Regions from separate parts of the Homo sapiens genome. Here regions 2 and 3 are each linked to region 1. The links are contacts of gene promoters, found by promoter capture Hi-C in human tissues and cell types (Jung and others, 2019). All regions are on one chromosome and are shown on one strand. The core of a region is centred on a gene start or on the middle of the fragment in contact, and the rest is flanking DNA. Distances in the headings are between cores, read along the strand shown.

Region 1 (3,863 bases), core at 642-3,141:
GAAGTTCCCATAAGGTTAGGGAGGAGGGGCAGCAGATGGCATGTCATCAGCTGTTGGTCATTCATGCACTCAGCATACATTCTTTGAGCACCTATTGTGTGCCAAGCCCTGTTCTAGGCACTGGGAATCGGAGGTGAAAGACAGACAGAAGTCCCTTCCTCCAGGAGGTCTAGAGAGAAGAGCAGACAATCAACGATTTTCCTTTGCTGGTATAACATACACGTCATGTAAAGGCCTGACTTACGTGGATTTTGAAGGATTTTAAGTTTCAACCCAGCCGTTCCTGGTCTCCTACTCACAGACTTCTCTCTGGAAGTGGTAGTTGTCTGTAAAAGCAACTGGGTTTGATCCTTTTGATGACTGTACTCAAGATACCCAGATGATAAGGAGAATGTCTTGAGACATGAGACCTCATGGGACCTCTGCCCCCCAATTCCTGGGTTCCAGCACTGTACACAAGTCAGTTGGGGGTTCTCGGGCTGCTGTTTGGTAAACAGGGTTTACCCTGCCTGGGTCTGATGGTGATGATCAGACCTTCAAAAGGGTTGCAGTGCAAACGGTGTGGAGAACAGGAGCTACCCTTGTTTCTTACACACACCCAACAATTTAAGAGCAAAATGAGGCAAGAAGTCTCCCCACCAATCCTCCTGAAGCCACACAATGTGATGTCTTTTTCTTTTTTTTTTTTTTGAGATGGAGTCTTGCTCTGTCGTCCAGGCTGGAGTGCAGTGGCGCGCTCTTGGCTCACTGCAATCTCCACCTCCCGGGTTCAAGCCATTCTCCTGCCTTAGCCTCCCGAGTAGCTGGGATCACAGGCATCCGCCACCACGCCCAGCTAATTTTTGTAATTTTTAGTAGTGACGAGGTTTCACCACGTTGGCCAGGCTGGTCTCAAACTCATGACCTCAGGTGATCCACCCGCCTCGGCCTCCCAAAATGCTGGGATTACAAGCCACCGTGCGCAGCCTGTGATGTCCTTTTCTTTCTCTTTTTTTATTGAGGTCTATCTTGCTTATAATAAAGGCACATTGATTTTAGGTCCTCCAGTTATTCATGCTCTGTACATTTCCCATAGGAGCACATGTCACAGATTCAATTTGATATACTCGTGAAATTATTTGTTTGAATATCTGTAAGCTGCACAACAGCCTGGATTTTGCCAGCTGCCCACCACTGGGTTCTCCAGCACCCAGCATGCAATAGGTGCTTAATAAAGATCTGCTGAATGAAATGAGTAACGGATAACAGAACAGGTATTTTCTCTTTCAGAGGCGACTTCCTACGATTCTCTCAACTTGTCCACAAGTTCCTGTACCCATTACCCCACAACTCACACCCACAACATAATGGCAGGAGGATGCGCACACAGTAGGCGCTCCAGCGAACTCTCAGGTGCAGTGCCCTTGCTTGGCGCGAGGAGGCGCCAGCACCGCGCACAGACCTTGCCCGCCCCCGGGCCGGCACCAGCAGCCCAGGCAAGTCAGTGGGCCCACATTTATGGAGCGCCTCCTGAAATCCTGGGTTGCATTAGGCTCTCGGGGTCGCCGGCTGGGCAGCGGGTCGGTGCCGGTGGCGGGGGATCCTGGCTGGTGACTGGGGAACATCCAGGGAACGCGGGAGGGTACCCGGAGCAAAGTTCCCAATTGGACAGAGCGGGGTCGGGCCTCGAGGGGCGGGAGCGCTTCCGGCAGGGGTGTCCAAGCGAGTCGTGACCTCTGACCCGCCGGAGAGGTCCCAGGCCCAGGCGCCACTGCGGACTCGGGTCCTGCCTGCTCTGCTCCCCTCCGCGCAGGCGCGGCCGGCGGCAGTTCCCATGGTGACGGGGGCGCGTCCCCGCTCGAGGCCCCGCCCCCAGCAGGCTAGGCTGCGCGGGGCTGCGGGCTCCCAGGGCAGGTGCCGCGGGCTGCGGGCAGGTGGCGGCGCGGCGCGGGCTGGCGGTGGCTCCACGGTAGGTTGCGCAGCGGCTGCGGGCAGTGGGGGCCGGCTGGCCGCCTCCTGTCCCCGGCCGACGAGGTAGCTGGGGGTGACGGCGGCTGGCGAGGGCCGCCAAGTTTCTGCCCGGCCGAGGCCCCGGGAGAAAAGTTGGCAAAGTTGGCCGGGGAAGAGGCGGGGAGCCGGAGGATTTCCCCAGACTCCGGGTCTGCAGGGAGGGAGGATCCCGGTTTGGGAGCCGGGGAATCCGTCTCCCGAGACTTGAGAGTGGATCCCGCGGGAAGATCCCGCACAGGGCAACCAATGGATCACGTGCCACCTGGTTGGCGACTTGGGAGTCGATCCCTGGAGGGGATCGGGCGCTGGAGGCCTGGGGTCCCACTGGATCCCCAGTCAGGGGTGACGGCGAAGGGTGATTCGAGACTGGGAGCGAGAGGATCAATCTCCTCCCATGCCAGCCTGAGCCTTGGGAATGGATTCAGAGAGATCCCGTGGCTAGGAGCTGAGGGATCGCTGGAGATCTGGGTTACTCAGCCTGGAGCTGCTAGGGTCTGGACATTTGTGCGGGTTGGAGGCCCCGGAGGTGGAAGTGGGAAGCAAGGGCGGCGAGCGAGACGGAACCCTGGTCGAGGGGAGCCCGGAGGACAGCGCGGTGGTTCGGGGGGCGTGAGAGGGGCGGCGCGCGGGGCCCCTCGGACGCGGAGGCTCCGGACACGTCCTCTCGGCCTGGCCTGCGCCCCCCCTCCGCTCGTCTTCCCAGGGCGGAGGCGCCCTGATGGGATTAAGCCTCAGTCCCCCTGTTACCAGGCAGGCCCGCGTGGTCCCCGCCCCGATGGCGGCGCGGCCCACCCGGGCTCACGGGTGGGGCCCTCGGGATGGGAAGCGGCTCGTTGACCCCCACCCGAGCCTGACCTTTTCACACCCTGCTGGCACAAACTCGCCTGGGAGTGGGGACGCCGCGCCTTAAAACCCTGCTGTTTGTCCAGTCCCGGAGCAGGCGTGTGACCTCCACCGCGCGACGCCTAGGTGGCTAGGGCTTCCTGCCTGCCGGGACTGAACTTTCTCTAGCCAGGAGCAGCCATTATCTTTTGGAAGGGAAAGGACTGTACCTGTTGCACAAAGAAAAACACTTTCTTTGCACCTTTTTTGTGACCTTGGGCAAAACACTTAACCTATCTGAATCCAGATGGGGACCCTCTGGGCAAAATGGGCTTGGCCTAGGATGGATCGGAATGAAGGGTATGAAACAGGTAGGGGCTCTATAAGTATCAGTGCCTCCCTCAGTCTATGGCCTCTCCTTTCCCGTGCCCCATCCCCTGTGCTTGCCTTACAGTATCTAAAGATTCCAGAAACCCTACTTGCTATCTTTTGAAACCGCAGGATTAGAGAGCTATTTAGCTTAACCTTTCTTCCAAATGGGTTAATTGCCCCTCTGATCCCCCCTTGCAGAGAGAAGCTCTGAGGTTTGGCTAATGAGTAACCAAGACATTTGGACAAAGCTTCTCCCTTGGTCTGGCTTTCCCTCTGCTAATCCATCAAGGTTCCTGGACAAACGTGTGCACCCCCAGACTCTGGCGCCTCCTTCCTTCCTGTTGCAGCCAGGGACAGTTCCCGAGGAATTTGTACAGACACAAGCCCAGATCTTGGTGGTTCTGGCAGGGGGATCCTTTTTAAAGGATTTGCATGCTTGACAAGGGTGCAATTACCCAAGAGAAGTGCAGAGTTTCAATGCAGTGTCTGGACATACATTTCAGCTGGGCACATGAACTGGCTGGCTCCATCAACCAGCGTGTATTGAGCACCTATGTCAGGAGCACTGTAGAAATGGTGTGGCCTAGGGCAACTCAGGATTTGTCCTCTTGGAGTTACTTTCCAGCTATGGAGCAGTCGGCTTGCCCTGCAGTCTAGTACTGATTCTTGATGTTGGGGAT
Region 2 (3,908 bases), core at 408-2,907, 160 kb after region 1:
CAGAGCCTCACTTTGTCACCCAGGCTGGAGTGCAGTGGCACAGTCTCGGCTCACTGCAACCTCCACCTCCCAGGTTCAAGTGATTCTCCTGCCTCAGCCTCCCCAGTAGCTGGGATTACAGGTGCCCTCCACAACACTGGCTAATTTTTGTATTTTTAGTAGAGACAGGGTTTCACCATGATGACCAGGCTGGTCTCGAACTCCTGACCTCAAGTGATCCACCCGCTTCAACCTCCTAAAGTGCTGGGATTACAGGCATGAGCCACTGTGCCCAGCCTATTTTCATTTACTTATTTTGAAGACAAGGTCTTGCCCTGTCACTGGAGCTGGAGTGGAGTGGCACGATCATAGCTCACCACAGCCTCGATACCCTGCGTTCAAGCCATCCTCTCACCTCTGGAATAGCTGGGACTACAGGCATGTGCCACCACACCCAGCCATTTTTTTTCTTTTGTGTAGAGACAGGGTCCTGCTATGTTGCCCAGGCTGGTCTTGAGCTCCTGGCCTCAAGTGATCCTCCCACCTCAGCCTCCCAAAGTGTGGGGATTGCAAGCATGAGCCACTGTACCCCACCCCCTCCACCAGTATGTATGTATGTATGTATGTATGTATGTATGTATGTATGTATGTATGTACGTATTGAGATGGAGTCTTGCTCTGTCCCCTAGGCTGGAGTGCAATGGTGCAGTCTTGGCTCACTGCAACCTCCGCCTCCTGGGTTCAAGCAATTCTCCTGCCTCAGCCTCCTGAGTAGCTGGGACTGCAGGCGTGTTCCACCACACCCGGCTAATTTTTGTATTTTTAGTAGAGACAGGGTTTCACCATGTTGGCCAGGCTGGTCTCGAACTCTGGCCTCAGGTGATCCACCCACCTCAGCCTCCCAAAGTGCTGAGATTACAGGTGTGAGCCACCACACCTGGCCCCCTCAGTCAGTATTTACTGAGTATCTACCACAACTCTGGTGCAGGAGAAATGGCTGTGAACGAAAGAGACAAAACTCCTGCCTTCACAGAGCTGCCTTCTAGTGAGGCTGATAATAAAACACATCAGAATGTAAATATGTCATATATGTGCTGAAAATGAGAGAACTATCTTAAAATATCAAGGGTCTGTCTTTAACCTCAAACTATTGCTGTATATTAGAGTTTCTCAGCCTCAGCTCTAATGATATATTGGGCTACATAATTGTTTATGGCTGTGGGGGGTAAGGGGTAGAGTCTGTGCATTGTAAGCTTATCCCTGGTTCCTACCCACTAGAAGCCAGTAGCATCCCACAGTTGTGACAACCAAAAATATCCAGACATTGCCAAGTCTCTTGGGGGCAGAATCACAATGCCCCCTCCCAGCCCCCATCCAGGTTTGAGAACACTGTCGTATATAATGTGGTGTGGGGCACAATAATTGTAGCTGGGGTATATTCTCCCAGTGACTTAAATATGGGGAGAAGGGCAGGGATCCCACATCCATGAGCCTCTCCTGCTTGCCAGGAACCACACAGCTGCCCCTGTGGGGTATAGCCCCATACTTTGTGAATGGAGAAATCTGAAGCACAGAGAGGGGAAGTCACAGGACTGGGGATCCATGAAGTGGGGACTCCATCCAGCATGTGTCGGCCTTGCTGGGAGCATGACCACACCCTGCACTGGGGATTCACTATTAAACATCGGCCCCAGAGCTGAGCGTTCAGTCCTCCAGCCCAAGGCCGAGTGGGAGTATTTGCTTCTGTGTTAATTATGGACTGTAATGGAGGCTTAAAATATTCAGCAGGGCTCAGCATCTCCCCCAACCACACACACACACACACACACACACACACACACACACACACACACACACACAGACACACTGCTTCAGCAAGTGGGGGAGAATTGCAAGGAAAGGATGTATAGAACTCCTGCCTTCAGAAGCTGCATTTCAGCCCCATCTCCATCAGTACTCTCTCCCTACTGGGGTCCTCCGGCTCTGTAACAAATTACCACAAACTTGGTGGCTTAAATTAATATAACTTCATCTCTCACAGTTCCGGAGTCCAGAAGTCCAAAATCAAAATGTCAGCAGTCGGCCGGGTGTGGTGACTCACCTGTAATCCCAGCACTTTGGGAGGCCGAGGCGGGCGGATCACCTGAGATCGGGAGTTCAAGACCAGCTTGACCAACATGGAGAAACCCCATCTCTACTAAAAATACAAAATTAGCCCAGTGTGGTGACGCATGCCTGTAATCCCAGCTACTCAGGAGGCTGAGGCAGGAGAATTGCTTGAACCCGGGAGGTGGAGGTTGCAGTGAGTCGAGATCACACCATTGCACTCCAGCCTGGGCAACAAGAATGCAACTCTGTCTCAAAAAAAAAAAAAAAAAAAAAAATGTCAGCAGTCAACGCCTCCCTCCAGAGGCTCTAGGGGAGCATCCTTTCTCACCTCTTCCAGCTTCTGGTGGTTCCAGGCATTCTTTGGCTTGTGGCCACATCACCCCAATCTCTGCCTCTATCTTCATGTCACTATCTCCTCTTCTCTGTCATCTCCTTTCCTGTCTCTGGTAAGGACACTTGTCCCTGAACATGGGAGCCTCCTGGATTACCTAGGATGATCTCACCTAGGATGATCACCTCAACCTCCCAAGTAGCTGGGACTACAGGTGTACACCACCACACCTACCTAATTTTTTTGTATTTTTAATAGAGACAGAGTTTTACCTTGTTGCCCAAGGTAGTCTCAAACTTCTGGGCTCAAGGGATCCACCTACTTCAGCCTCCCAAAGTGCTGGGATTACAGACGTGAGACACTGCATCCAGCCAACGTATCTTTTTAGGGGCCACTGTCAGCCCCCCACACACTCCCCACAGCTTACACTCTGGCCCCTCCCATCCAGTCCATTCTCCTCCCAACAACCCAAGAGATCAGGTCATTCCCCTGCCTCACCCCAGACTTAGATGCCCAGTTTTCCTGTGCGACCTGGCCCTGCCTCCCTGCTAACATCAGCTCCTACCTCTGTCCTTTATGCTCACTCTGACCTTGCCCCTCTGACCTCCTGCTCTTCGTCAGTCACCCCCTGCTCCTTCCAGACGCCAGGACTTTGCCATCACCATTCCCTCTGCTGAAATGCCCTTGCCCTCTCTTCACCTCTGCAGAGAGGCTTCCCGACGTTCCAGGCTGTGGTGAACTCCCTGCGTTTCCCTGCACCCATCCTACATTTCTTCCTGGGACCTATCTCATTCTATACTTATTTCATGTCACTTGTTCCCTGGTTTATTCTCTGACTCCTCTACTAGGATGTAAGGTCCATGAGGGCCAGGGCTTTGGCCGTCCTGGTTCACCTTGATATTGCCAGTACCCAGAACAGTGGCTAGGAGCTCACAGAGTATCTGCCTTCCTGAAATCCACTGTCCTTCATTCTTGTGTCCACCCTGTGACACCACCTCCATATTATAGATGGGTAAACTGAGGCCTGGAGAGGATAAGTGACACAGCCCTGGTGTACACCTCTTAAGAGATGACAAGAAGTGTACGGCCACATCACCCTGAATGCTCCCAGTCTCATCTGATCTCAGAGTTGACGCCAGGATTCTAGTCCAGGGAGGCCTGGAGTTCTTTCCCTGTAGAGGGCAGGATGGAAAATCTGAAGTATAATGGTAATAAAAACCACTCATTCATTCATTAGGAATTTTTAATTGAGTACCTGTTTTGTACCAGATACTGTGCTCAGTAGAGGAGAAAACAGGCAGGGTCTTTGCCCTCATGGGACTCATAGGAGCAGGGAGACACATTAAACAATTAAGTAAACCAATGAATGAACAAAGAAAGTACTCTCAGATAATGGTGAGGGCTCTGAAGAAAATGTAACAGGGCATGGGGACCCATGGGAGTGTATTTTAGGAACAGTGGTCAGGAAAGTCTTCTCAGGAGGTGACAT
Region 3 (3,595 bases), core at 533-3,032, 180 kb before region 1:
TAGTATTTTTTGTGGAGACGGGGTTTCACCATGTTGCCTGGGCTGGTCTTGAGCTCCTGAGCTCAAGCGATCATCCCATCTCAGCCTCCCGAATTTCTGGGATTACAGGTGTGAGCCACCATGCCTAGCCTAGGTTTTTTGTTTTTTTGTTTTGTTTTGTTTTGTTTTTGTTTTTGTTTTGAGACAGAGTCTGGCTCTGTTGCCCAGGCTGGAGTACAGTGGCGTGATCTCAGCTCACTACAAGCTCTGTCTGCTGGGTTCACGCCATTCTCCTGCCTCAGCCTCCCGAGTAGCTGGAAGTACAGGCGCCCGCCACCAGGCCTGGCTAATTTTTTTGTATTTTTTTTAGTAGAGACGGGGTTTCGCCATGTTAGCCAGGATGGTCTTGATCTCCTGACCTTGTGATCCGCCTGCCTCAGCCTTCCAAAGTGCTGGGATTACAGGCGTGAGCCACCGCGCCTGGCCTAGCCTAGATATTTTTTAAAAATCACCAATTCTTTAATATTTTATCACAGTTACATCCAGATCCTTGATGTACACATTGAATGCCTGTCAATTATGAGAGAAATAGTTAGTTATCTGGCACGGTTTCTTAACTAATCTTTGTCTTACTGCTTTGAAATTGCACCATTATCCTATAGAAATCTGCATGCGTTCTCAGCTTGAATTCCAGACTCAGTTGTGCACTGTTGGCCAGGCACAGAGTTTCATGCCTGTAATCCCAGCACTTTGGGAGGCTGAGGCAGGAGGATTGCTTGAGCCCAGTAGTTCAAGACTAGCCGGGGCAACATCAAGACACCGTCTCTAAAAAAAAAAAAAATTAAAAAATTAACTAGGATGGTGGTGCACACCTGTAGTCCCTGGTGCTTGGGAGGTTGAGGCAGGAGGACAGGAGGATCGCTTGAGCCTGGGAGTTCAAGGCTGCAGTGGACTATGATCATACCACTGCACTCCAGCCCGGGTGACAGAGTGAGACTCTGTCTCAAAAAATTCTGCACTGTCTATGGTGCAGCAGTAACTATTTGTTTACTACATCTTGAAAATATCCTAAAGATTTGAAAAGCCTGAACCTGCTAAGCACTTGAAAATTCCTGGCCAGCTGGGCGGGGTGACTCAGGCCTGCAATCCCAGCACTTTGGGAGGCTGAGGTGGGCGGATAACCTGAGGTCAGGAGTTCGAGACCAGCCTGGACAACATGGTGAAACCCCGTCTCTACTAAAAAAAATAAATAAATAAATAAATAAATTAGCCAGGTGTGGTGATGTGTGCCTGTAATCCCAGCTACTTGGGAGACTGAGGCAGGAGAATTGCTTGAACCTGGCAGGTGGAGGTTGCAGTGAGCTGAGATCGAGCCATTGCACTCCAGCCTGGGCAACAAAGGCGAAACTCTGTCTCAAAAAAAAAAAAGGGCAAAGAGAAAAAGGAATAAAAAGACAAAGCAGAATACGTCCCAAGAACTGGGATAACTATAAAAGGTGTAACATGCATAATGGGAATATCATAAGGAAAGAAAGAGAGAAAGGAACAGGAGAAGTATTTGAAATAATAATGACCGAAAATTTTCCAAAATTAAAAACAGAATTAAATCACAGATCCAGGAAGTTCATAGAACACTAAGCAAGATAAATACCAAAAATTATACTCTAGGCATAATATTCAAACTGAAAGGACAGTGACTTGCCCAAGGTCACACAGTCAGCAAGTGACAGAAGTGGGATTAGAAGGCAAGCCTACCTATCCCCAGAGCCAACCTCCTTTGCCCCTCACCTGGGTTCATCCCCAAGCTCACAGGCCAAAAGCCTGCAAACTGAGTCAGGAAAGAAAAATTCCTGTCCATCATTTCTCACTCTGGGGAAGGAAGGTAAAAAGAGTGCTCACATTCACTGTCAGGTCTGATAGACTCTCCTGCAACTACTTTTCTGAGGACAAATTGCTGTTTCCAATGGCTGATGGCTTCATCAGTGCAAAACTCTTATTGGGGACTGCACAGAGCTGACATTTGCCACTGTTTTGTGACCATCACAAAAAGAATCCTATATTTTGTTTTCCCTTTTTCTTTTTTTGTTGTTGTTTTTTGTTGTTGTTGTTTGTTTTTTGTGTTTTTTTTTTCTTGAGATGGAGTCTTGCTCTGTTGCCCAGGCTGGAGTGAGTGCAGTGACACAATCTCGGCTCACTGCAACCTCCACCTCCCAAGTTCAAGTGATTCTCCTGCCTCAGCCTCCCAAGTAGCTGGGATTACAGAGGACACCACCATGCCCGGCTAATTTTTGTATTTTTAGTAGGGACAGGGTTTCACCATCTTGGCCAGGATGGTCTTGAACTCCTGACCTCGTGATCCACCCGCCTCAGCATCCCAAAATGCTGGGATTACAGGCGTGAGCCCCCACGCCTGGCCTGTTTTCCCTTTTTCATTCTGCAGACATCAAAGGAAAACAAGAAGCAGGAAGGTCTGTGGCTGACAGCAATGTCTCCCTCAGCCCTTACCTCTATGGGTGACAGGGCCAAAGCCTCACTGTCCTGCCAGCCACTGTGAACAGACAGCATTCTCTGCCCCAAGAACGCAACTCTGCAGGTGGAGGAGGCCCAAGGAGAGAGATTTCATTTTCTGTTCCTCTTCTAGGGGCTGACAGCTTGGACAATAGTTTCTCAGAAACAAACTTTATTCTCAAGGAGATGAGCATGTCTGAGCCTGGAATGTTTATGTGAACAAATATGGTTTTTCTCCCTGCTCCAGCCTCAGCCTTGGCCATGAGACAAGGTTTCCTCTTCACCATCTGTGGAAGGCTCATTTTTGTTCCATGGGCTCAGCTTGTCTGTGCCTGGGACAAAGAGCCGCAAGGTGGTGCTATTGTCTTAGGTTAATAAAAACGAGGCCAACTATACAGTCCTCCTTGGGTATCCACAGGGATTGGTTCCACAGTCTACCGCTGATACCAAAATCTGTGGATGCTCAAGTCCCTGATACAAAATGGTGTTGTATTTGTATACATCCTATGCACATCCTCCTGTATACCTTTAAATCATCACTAGATTATTTATGATACCTAATACCATGTAAATACTTTGTAAGTAGTTGTTATGTTGTGTTGTTTAAAGCAGGAATGTCCAATCTTTTGACTTCCCCGGGCCACATTGGAAGAATTGTTTTGGGCTACACATAAAATACACTAACACGGCCAGGCGCCATAGTTCATGCCTATAATCCCAGCAGCTTGGGAGGCCGAGGCGGGTGGATCACAAGGTCAGGAGATCGAGACCATACTAGCTAACATGGTGAAACCCCCTCTCTACTAAAAATATAAAAAATTAGCCAGGTGTGGTGGCGGGCACCTGTAGTCCCAGCTACTTGGGAGGCTGAGGCAGGAGAATGGCGTGGACCTGGGAGGCAGAGCTTGCAGTGAGCCGAGATCGTGCCATTGCACTCCAGCCTGGGAGACGGAGCGAGACTCCGTCTGAAAAACAAAAACAAACAAACAAACAAAAAACAAAATTAGCTGGGCATGTTAGCACACACCTGTAATCCCAGCTACTTGGGAGGCTGAGGCAGAAGAATCGCTTGAATCCTGGAGAGAGAGGTTGCAGTGAGTCGAGATTG

Evidence for each region. The method cuts DNA at HindIII sites, captures the fragments that hold promoters and counts their contacts. A contact is called where the count stands out against the background at its distance.
Region 2: a fragment that was not itself captured here is called in contact with the fragment with the promoter of KIAA1671 in region 1 in 4 of the 25 tissues and cell types used here (dorsolateral prefrontal cortex, liver, mesendoderm cells and 1 more).
Region 3: a contact is called between a fragment that was not itself captured here and the fragment with the promoter of KIAA1671 in region 1, in 3 of the 25 tissues and cell types used here (bladder, dorsolateral prefrontal cortex and mesendoderm cells).

The regions. Positions count from the first base shown.
Region 1 is chr22:24,950,825-24,954,687 of GRCh38, forward strand. It overlaps KIAA1671, which reads left to right and starts at 1,892. Exons shown (of 13, transcript NM_001145206.2): 1 at 1,892-1,948. RefSeq lists a silencer at 1,709-1,958. The HindIII fragment of the contact is 5,810 bases long and covers 1-3,863 here.
Region 2 is chr22:25,115,799-25,119,706 of GRCh38, forward strand. The region is part of intron 6 of KIAA1671; the gene reads left to right. Among named protein-coding and RNA genes, the nearest start is that of KIAA1671-AS1, 5.1 kb to the left of the region's middle. The HindIII fragment of the contact is 3,704 bases long and covers 1-3,509 here.
Region 3 is chr22:24,766,157-24,769,751 of GRCh38, forward strand. All of the region lies in intron 1 of PIWIL3 (piwi like RNA-mediated gene silencing 3), which reads right to left. Among named protein-coding and RNA genes, the nearest start is that of PIWIL3, 6.8 kb to the right of the region's middle. The HindIII fragment of the contact is 8,444 bases long and covers 1-3,595 here.